Linked DNA regions of Homo sapiens: region 1 is linked to region 2. Evidence: promoter capture Hi-C in human tissues and cell types (Jung and others, 2019). All regions are on one chromosome and are shown on one strand. Each heading gives the region's core, a stretch centred on a gene start or on the middle of the fragment in contact. The rest is flanking DNA. Distances are from core to core; before and after follow the strand shown.

Evidence for each region. The method cuts DNA at HindIII sites, captures the fragments that hold promoters and counts their contacts. A contact is called where the count stands out against the background at its distance.
Region 1: a contact is called between a fragment that was not itself captured here and the fragment with the promoter of WDR86 in region 2, in 1 of the 25 tissues and cell types used here (IMR-90 fibroblasts).

The regions. Positions count from the first base shown.
Region 1 is chr7:151,469,013-151,473,560 of GRCh38, forward strand. It overlaps RHEB (Ras homolog, mTORC1 binding), which reads right to left. Exons shown (of 8, transcript NM_005614.4): 5 at 2,537-2,593; 6 at 2,382-2,429; 7 at 1,559-1,640. Among named protein-coding and RNA genes, the nearest start is that of CRYGN, 31 kb to the left of the region's middle. RefSeq lists enhancers at 785-864, 4,054-4,313 and a silencer at 2,784-2,833. The HindIII fragment of the contact is 3,622 bases long and covers 1,290-4,548 here.
Region 2 is chr7:151,408,788-151,413,326 of GRCh38, forward strand. WDR86 (WD repeat domain 86) reads right to left here and starts at 1,251. Exons shown (of 6, transcript NM_198285.3): 1 at 640-1,251. The coding sequence starts at 802. It overlaps WDR86-AS1 (WDR86 antisense RNA 1), which reads left to right and starts at 374. Exons shown (of 6, transcript NR_109857.1): 1 at 374-595; 2 at 2,441-2,525; 3 at 2,883-3,005; 4 at 3,180-3,283; 5 at 3,932-4,065; 6 at 4,485-4,539. RefSeq lists an enhancer at 1,817-2,449. The HindIII fragment of the contact is 9,897 bases long and covers 1-3,173 here.

The sequences.
Region 1 (4,548 bases), core at 1,851-4,350, 62 kb after region 2:
AGGCACTCAATGGATTTAATTCAATTTTTAAAATATAGGTATCTCTTAACTATCTCAATTCTTATTTGAATTCTGTGTATACTCAGAAACTGAGCTGACTTCGATAAATCCCTTGCTATCTGGAACTTGGGAACGAATTACACACATCTGTTTAATCAGTTTTTTTCATCCGCACATAAGAGGACATAACCACATGGATTCACTATCCCTCCATATCCCAACACAGGACAAAGCCAATTTGACTATCACAGGATACTTGGGCTGACGGATAACCCACTGTGCTAAACATTATGAAGGATATTTATATAAATGATACTGACTCAGATCTCAGAACAAATTAAGAGGGCTAAGAGAAGAAACCACAATTTCTTTCAGCTGGATGGATCCAGAGGGGGTCAACAAGAAGGTGAAATCTAGGTGGGGCCTTGAGGACTACAAACCTCCGTGCTGCGGAGAGGGGCGGGGCAGGGAAGGAAGAGTGCCAAGGCTGCTGGCGCCCGGCCCTCCCAGGGAGGAGGCACCACCCTACTATACTAGAGTTTCCTCAGAGAAATGAAAACCAAGTCATCTTACCTGAGGATCAAACACCACCACATGTTGAAAACACATTCAAAATATAAAACCCCACATGAACCTAAGTAGATACTTAGAGAAGGGCTATTTTAAACCGGAGGGGAGCATGAGGAAAGGTGAGACATTTTGAAAGTGGGGTGGACAGGAGATGGTGTGTTTAAGGAAGGGAGCAGTTTGATGTGATGGAAAGTACAAGAACGTGGTGAGAGAAGAAACTAGAAAAGAACAAATTATTGACTGCATTCAGGACCAGGCGAAGGGTTCTATAGAGAAGGGGCAGTTCACTGACAGTTTCTGAGTAGAGGATGATACCATCAGATGTGTATCTTTAGAAAATTAAGGGCAGCAAAAAAAATGTATAGGTGAAAAATGCACTGGGGGCGGGAGACAAGCTTGGTGCCGGGGGTCTAAATTAGAGCAATGGAAGAGAAGGGCTCATACAGGACTGTGAAGCCTCCGGAGGCAGAATCTACATCCTTCCCAGAACATGCCTTTGAAGGCACATCTGCGGGGTGAAATTGGTACTAAATGCTTATAAGATGGTTCTTCATCATTTCTATGTTAACAATTAACACGTACGTCTGACCCGGTTTCATCTAACAGAAAAAAAGCCAGGGGGTGGGTAGTTACAAAATTAGTACTAAAGTGATATAATTCTTTTTTTTTCCCCTGTATGGACTTATTTCTGTACCAGCTATTAATACAAACCAAAAATATATGTTTACAAAAGGTAGTATTTCCTTTACTAATAGTTTCTGTTTATCCTACAAATATCCTAGGTTCCACTGTAAGTAGAATACTGACTGAATTTATAAACACCTAAGTAGTATCTTCCTAAAGCAACACAAAACTTGGTATTAGAAATGGAGGAAGGCCAGATGTTACACAGGAGTGATCAAGACAGAGGTCAAATGCCAACTGCAAGGAACACATCCCTGCGACTGATGAGAACGCAATGCAAAATGAGGTTTATAGAATCTGTTACCTGATTTTCTTTAGCAGAAGATTCCAAAAAAGCTGCATTCCAAGATTCTGCCAAAGCTTTCCCTTCTTCATAACTGATCACCCTAAAGAAAAAATAAAATTCTAGTTAAAGTACTTTGCTCTTCATTATATAAAACATGTATAATTGATTTATGAAACAGGCTCCATTTTGGTCAATTTCTTTCTCATGAAGCAGAACCATGCCCTGGCCTAACATTAGCATCAAGAATGTAACACAGGAGTGTTTTAATTACGCCTGAGCTGGGGAACAGAATAGACATTGCTTTATGGGATTATCCATGCTCCAGCAAACCTTCCAGCTCAGAGAACATGATCTTATTTTCCAGTACTCCCGTATCTGTAACAATTGACTATTTTACAGCTAGGTTGTAAGCACCCAAGGCCAGGGGAAATTGTGAAAGAGCCTGAAAGCTCAATTCTCTTGCATGCAGGCTGTAGAGTCTCTTCCTCTCTGACATGAAGCTGCCTGGGCAGGGGACATCTGCCTCCTTTGCTCCTCACTGTAATCCCAAACCCTGGTACTCAAAAACCACTTGCTGCATAAATGAGCACTATGTCTTTTTAGAATTTGCTTTATGCAAAGTGGCAGATAACCTAAAGGTAGTTTCCTATAAAGTTTGCTCTCTCTTTTCTAGAGGAATGTGAGATTTCTATTCCACTTTTGCTTCTGCTGCACACGACCATAACACCTCTGAACGGATAAAAATGCTACAGCTAAAAATATTCTTGACATCAGAACAATAATTAAAATGATACTTCAGTGACTAAATCATCTTAGATTTGACTTTATAAAAGCTACATACCTTTCCATATGCAGGTCTTTCTTATTCCCAACCAACATAATAGGTATTCTATTTGTAAGAAAAAAAAGACAAACCAGTAAGTGCCAGATTGTATTGCTCAGAAGATACTATTAAAAGAAGTTTCTCTAACAAGCAGATAAAATGGTACTACTTACTGTACTTTCCCCACCATATCCAACAATTTGCCATGGATAACTTTAATCACTTCAAAACTATAAAACAAAAAGTATAAATTAGACATCCATTTTAATGTTGAAGTTTTTAAATGTATGTTATGTTGCCAGCTGGAAAAATGTAAAATGTCACAGACTCACCATTTTAACATAACATAAAATGAACACAAAGAACTCCTGTTTTTTCCTAGCAATCCATTCACATGTGCATACATCTGACACTCAGCAACCCTGACTGAGGATATTCAAAGTGAAACAGGTAAGGCATTCAAACGGAAAGCCTACCACTGGGCTGAGAAACCACATAAATGCAAATTTTAATCACCCAACTCATTCAGCAAAGAACCAACTGTTTACATTACAACTTGAACAGCTTTTCCTAGAGTGCCCTAGTACATTCAGCCTGCTCCTGTGTTCTTTCCTAGGTACATACATTCTCTGGGTGATGCCAGTATCTCTTGGCTTTCAATCAGATCAATGAGCCGATGACTCTAGGATGGAGGTGGCTCTCACCGGGAAGGGGATCTGAGATGTCATAATGATCACTTGAAATCTGCCACAGCAGGATTATTTATACCACTGACTGCTGGCAAATGGCCACAAATCATTTTCCACCCTCCCCCAAAAAACCCATGCAAACATCTGCCAGCACATCACTGGCTCTACTTTCAAATCCTACCTAGAATCTGACGGCTTCTCACTCCCCTCCACTGCTGCCGCTGAGGTGTGAATTCCTGGCCCAAGTCTGCCTGCATCAGTTCCACAGCCCCAACCCTTCCCCGCCACCCCTGCTCAGCACAGCAACCAGAGGACTCTGCTGCAGCAGATGGACGGTGCCTGGTTCAACATCCTCTGATGGGTGGCCATCTTTACTCGGCCCCAGTGACTCTCAAGCCGCAAACTTCTGACCTCGTGATCCGCCTGCCTCGGCCTCCCAAAGTGCTGGGATTACAGGCGTGAGCCACCACACCCAGCCTCAAATGTCACTTCTTACACCTCTTCTGTTTACCCTAAATGACAAATTTCCTTTCCATTTCTTACCCCTTCCGTACTTTATTTTTCTTGGCAGCATGGTCACAGACATCCTATCTCGCATGTGTGTCGTTTTACTGTTTGTCTCCCACACCAGAAATAATAGGTCCGCAAGGGCAGGGATTTGTCTGCTTTGTTCATGATTGCATCACAAGCTTCAGAATAAGTTAGCTTGTTGAATGAATTACACACTGTGCTATTTTAAACGATGTGTGCTGTCATTTGATAAAAACAAAAATGAAATTTAACCCCCCTACAAGCTCGCTGTGGGTCAACAAATGGGATATGGGTGTCCTAAGGACCTGCGGTTGCATTACAGAACCACGGTTTCCTCCGCATGCTGTATTTGCCTATCTTTAAAAGTGTCGCCACTTGGGCAAAAATACAGTACCCTGTCACGTGAGAAACAGCTGAAAGAACTAGGACTGTGTGGCAGGCAGCTTGGAGCCGGCTCCCAGATCTCCTGCTCTCCTAGTGGCCACACTGTGTGTCATCTCCCTGCATGGACCTAGTGACGTGCGTCTAATGAACAGAATATGGCAAAGGTGATGGAATGTCCCTTTTGCGGTTAGGTTATAAAAGACAGTGGCTTGTCATGCAGGAAATTCCCTGGCTCTCTTGTGCACCTGCCCCAATGAAGTGAAGCACCTGGCAAGGAGCAGAGGGCAGCCTCAGGCCAGCGGCCAGCAAGGAACTAAGAAGCTCAGTCCAACAACTTGCAAGAAACTCAACCCTGTCAAGAGCCACGTGAACACGCTGGGAAACATCTTCCCCCAGGCAAGCCTTCAGATGGGACTGCAGCCCCTGCTGATACCCACACTGTGGCTCTGAGAGACTGAAGCAGAGGACACAGCTAGGCCACACCCAGATTCCTGACCCACAAAAACTGTGAGATCATAAATGTGTACTGTTCTAAGTGGCTAAATTTCTTGAGATCACTGATTTTCTGAATCAAACTGGTT
Region 2 (4,539 bases), core at 1-2,500:
ACAAATAGAAACCAACAGGCATGCAGGCAGGGTTTACAGCAATGAGAGGGCTCAGACTGCCATCTACCCCTCACTGGCTGTGCGACCTGGGCGAATTACTTAACTCCCAGCCTGTTTCCACGTCTGTATGTGGGGTAACATAGTGTGACGACGGCACACTTCTCCGCACCGCTGGCCCTTAACAAGCGTCTACTGTTGCTGTGAGAGTCGTCAACAGGAAATGCCAGCAGAAGAGCACAATTGGCCACAAAGAGGCCACAAGGCACCTAGAGACAAGGGAAGGTTTGCTTAGAAGGAGTATAGGTGCAACTTTTTGTTTGTTAACATTGTTGTCAAGGGAGATTTCCTGCCGCTGGTTGACAAATGATCTTCGCCTTTGTAGCGGACGCCCCTCGACCCACCCACCCGATCCCGGCCGCACCCTGCTCTGCACCCGCACCCCACCCCCAGACCTCACCCTGCCCTGCCGTGCGCTCAACAGCCAGATGCTGGGCCCAGACAAGCGCTCTTCCGCTAGTGTGCCGGGATGAGCGGGGGCTGGACTTCTAGAAAGGGGTCTGCGGGCGCAGGAGCTGGGGTCCGCGGTCTGGGGCCGGTGAGCTGCGGCGAAGAGGTCAGGGAGGGAGTGGGAGGGTCTACCTTGCAGGAGCGCGCAGCACTGGCCGTCCGCGGTGCTCCAGAGCCGGGCCGTGCCGTCCTCGCTGCCCGTCAGCAGGCGCTGCCCGTCGGGGCTCAGGCTCAGCCAGTTGATGCCCCCGCGGTGGTCGGCGCAGACCCTCAGGGCCGACCCGCCGCCCCCCATCCCGCTGGCAGGGCGGGGAACAAGAAGGAGCTGCGCCCCGCTAGGGAGGGGCGCCCCGGGGTCCGCGCGGCGGCTCCGTACGACTGCGGCCCGCGGCCATCGCGGGGAACGGGGAGCCCGACTCCTGCGGAGGCACGCGGCGAGGGGAGGGTGAAGGACCCTAGCTCCCCGCTGCCTCCAGCCTCTGGGCCCGCGAACCCAGGGCGCTGCGGGGGGCGGCCCACTCGGGACCTCCGCCCTGGGTAGAGTCCTGGGCGCGCGGGCAGAGAGAACCCCCTTCCCAGCACCGCTCGGAGGATCCACACCCCACCGGGCGAACAAGGCAGCTGCGTCTCTGGTGCACAAGGAGCCCCCCGCCTCCTCTCGCGCCCACGGGGCTGGGGCGGGGAGAGGAACACGGGAAGCCGAGCGCCCCGCGCCCTCCCCGGCCGAGCGCGGAACAATACGGTCCAGCCTGGCTCCTCCTCAGAGACCACCCCTCACCCGATCCCCTCCCACTTCTCGGGCTGCGCCCCAGCCCCCACCCCGCGCGCCTGCAGCCTCCCCCCTTCGTCGCTGTGCGGGTCCGGGGGACGGCTCCACGTGCGACCCTCCTAGCTGCCCGGGCTGCGCCTCTGGGCTCTGGCCTCTGCCACCTCCGCCGCCGCCGCCTGGGTCCCCTGAGCCAAGGGCCGGGACGAGGGAGGGGGAGGCGGACAAAGGGTCGGGGTCGGGGAGAATCGCGCGCCGGGAACTCATTTGGGGCGCAGCTCCACCGACCCCTCGGCTACTCGCCTCCACCAGGCAAGCCAGGTCCTCCCATGCTCTGAGCCCTAAGGACTCTGCCCGAGGGGCTCTCGGGGACTTGGGGGCGGTCCCCCAATGGAGGGTGCGACAGGGAAAGCCCCGAGTCCGCCCTCCCTGGGAAATCACGCGCACACCCAGGATTCTACTTTGGTCTGGCCGGAGTGGGGATGAGGTGCGAGCCGCTGCGGGGTCGGTGGAGCCGGGATGTCAAGTTCACCTTCCAGCCGCCGCGGGCTCCCTCGGCCTGGGGCGCCTCTAATGGACCCCGGGGTCGGCCTGAGCCCTCCCGGAGCGCCCGGCGGCTGGTTTCCATTAGGGCAGTTCCGGCGCCGACTTCGCTGGGGACGGGGAAGGTGACCCCCCTACTCGGATCCCCCAGGTCCTAAAGGTAGCAGGATTTCCAGAACGCTCCAGGGCTCTCTCAGGAGCCTAGGGAGAAGGGCAAGGAAGGGGCGTCTTTGGCGAGCTAGCCCGCAATGGGACGACCAGTACTGCACGCTCTGCTCTATCCAGACTCCAAAAGAAAACCCCATCGTGGGGTGTCCCAGGCCGTTGGGTCGTTTATACCCAGAGTGGCCTAACCAGAGAAATCCGTTCTTTTCCCTCAAAACTTGTAAAGCAGCTGGCGCCTCAGCTTAAGGAGCGTGGCCCTTCCTTAGCAGGTGGTGGAGAGAGGGGCAGTGGAGGAGCGTTAGGACGAGATTTGGGGTCATCCAGCCGGAGAGAGGGAGGCCGAAAGGAGAGACGTTTTCAGGAGGTGGAGGCTTCAGCATTTGGATGCCTGCGAGGCGGGAGAGGCCGGGGAGCCTGTCTTGTGCTGAGAGGCTGGGTAGACTGTTTTGTCCCCTACAGGCTGATCACCAGTTCCTCTTAGGAACCGGTGAACCTCAGGGGGCCCATTGCACATCCAGGTGTGAAACTGCGGTGTGGCCTCCAGGTGAGGACAGACTCGGTATAGTGGGGATCTTGGGCAGGCCCTGCGGCTGCAGCCCTTGGGGAAGGTGAATGTGAGGACCATGGAGGCTGGGAGGGTTTATCCGGAGAAGTGCCAGAGGAAACCCAAACTTTCTGGGCAGAGGGGCCAAGGAGAACCAGGCATCGACTCTTTTGGAAACTAAGAGGGGAGGGGTTTGAAAGCAGTTTGGGAGCTGGGGACAGATCGTAGGTTGGGCGAGCTTGCCTGGTCGTGGGCCAGAGGAAAGAACCACCAGGAGAAAAGCTTAACTTTCAAGGAGGTCACCCAGGATTCCTGAGCAAGGTGGCACCCATGCACTCTGGTTCCTCTCCTCTGCAGCCAACACAAGCCATCAGCCCCATGCTCAGCTCCCAGCAGGCAGAGCGTTCAGAAGCGCCAGCGCCATCATCTTGGGAGCCTGCAGTCCACACACCGCTGACCTTACCTACTTCCTCTTTCCAGGTTGATAGATTTTTTGTTCTTGGCTTCTCCACCTCCCCCACCCCTCCTTCTCCGGTTTGGCACAAAGTGGCCCCCTGGTGGGGATGAGCCAGCCATCTCTGGGGGTTGAGTCTGGACTGTAGAGCTGTGGGTGCAGATGTCCTCAGCCAGCCTGTCTTCCCTTTTCTCTTGCAGGTCGTAGATTACAGACTCTCCTCTGGGAAATTGCCCCCAGATCTAACAGGAGTACAAGAAGCTGGGTAGATTGGAAAACAGCACCGAATTCCCCTGGAACTGAGGTCTCCCCTAATTCCCCTGAAACTGGGGTCTCCCCCAACCTCCACCTTAAGATAGCAAAGCTATAGAGACCCAGGAGTCAGGCTGGGTCCCCAGCAGAACCTGGGCTCCCTTCCCCTTTCACACCTTTAACTCTTCTGGAGCCTCCAAGAGGGCCTGGAGTCCCGTGGTGCCCAGGCCCTCCTGGACCTAATCACTTTATAAATGGAAGGCACCTTGGGAAGGGAACCTGGTAGGGTGTAGGAGGAAATGGTTAAGCTTTAAGAAGCAAGAAATGGGCAGTGTTTAACAAGTGAAGGGTTGGGGGGCGGGTGCATTTTGTGCCAGGGAGTGCTCATTCCCCGTGCCACAGGGACTGCCACAATTTACCCTGCTGGAAAGAGTGACCCTCTGGGGCCTCTCTGAGAAGCATGGTGAAAGCTGGATATTCCTGAGTTGTGTGTGTGTGTGTGTGTGTAGGTGGTGACAGAGGGAGGCACCTTGAGGGGCGCCCACAGGGAACGTCATAGCCAGAGCTTTGTCAGAATTGCTTTTTCCCTTCTGGCACAACCTGCAATGCTGGTGGTGAGGGTGCCTGTGGTCATCATCTTCATAGTTTGGGTACTTACTGTGTGTCAGGTACTGTGCTAAGTGCTAGTATTTTTCAACAGGACGGAAGCCTTCCCAGTCCTGCAGCCACCTGCAGACTCTCACAAGCACGGTGCTCCCGGGAGAAGACCTTGCTACCCCAGGCCCAAGGCAGTCGAGAGAAAACGGGAAGCCCTGAAGGTTTTTCACCCCGGGGGTGAGAGTGTATGATCGAAGATATATTTGAGGGTAATTGTACAGATAGTCCCAACTTAGCATTGTTCAACTTTATGATGGTATGAAAGTGATGACATTCAGTAGAAATTGTACTTCAAGTGCCAATACAATCAGTTTTTCACTTTTGGTGCAGTATTCAATAAATTACATGAGATATTCAACACTTTACTTTAAAATAGGCTTTGTGTAAGATGATTCTGCCCAAATGTAAGGCTGATGCCAGTGCTCTGAGCACATTTAAGGGAAAGCTGGGCTAAGCAATGATGTTCCACAAGTTAGGCATATTAAATGCATTTTTGACTTAGAATATTCTCAACTTGCAATGGGTTTATCAGAACATGACATCGTTAATCACTCAAGGAGCATCTGTACCACTAATGACATAGATGCTGGTTGCAGGAAGGCAGCCAGAGGAGGGCACAGTGTGGAAGAACTCAACTTTTTAAAGACAGAG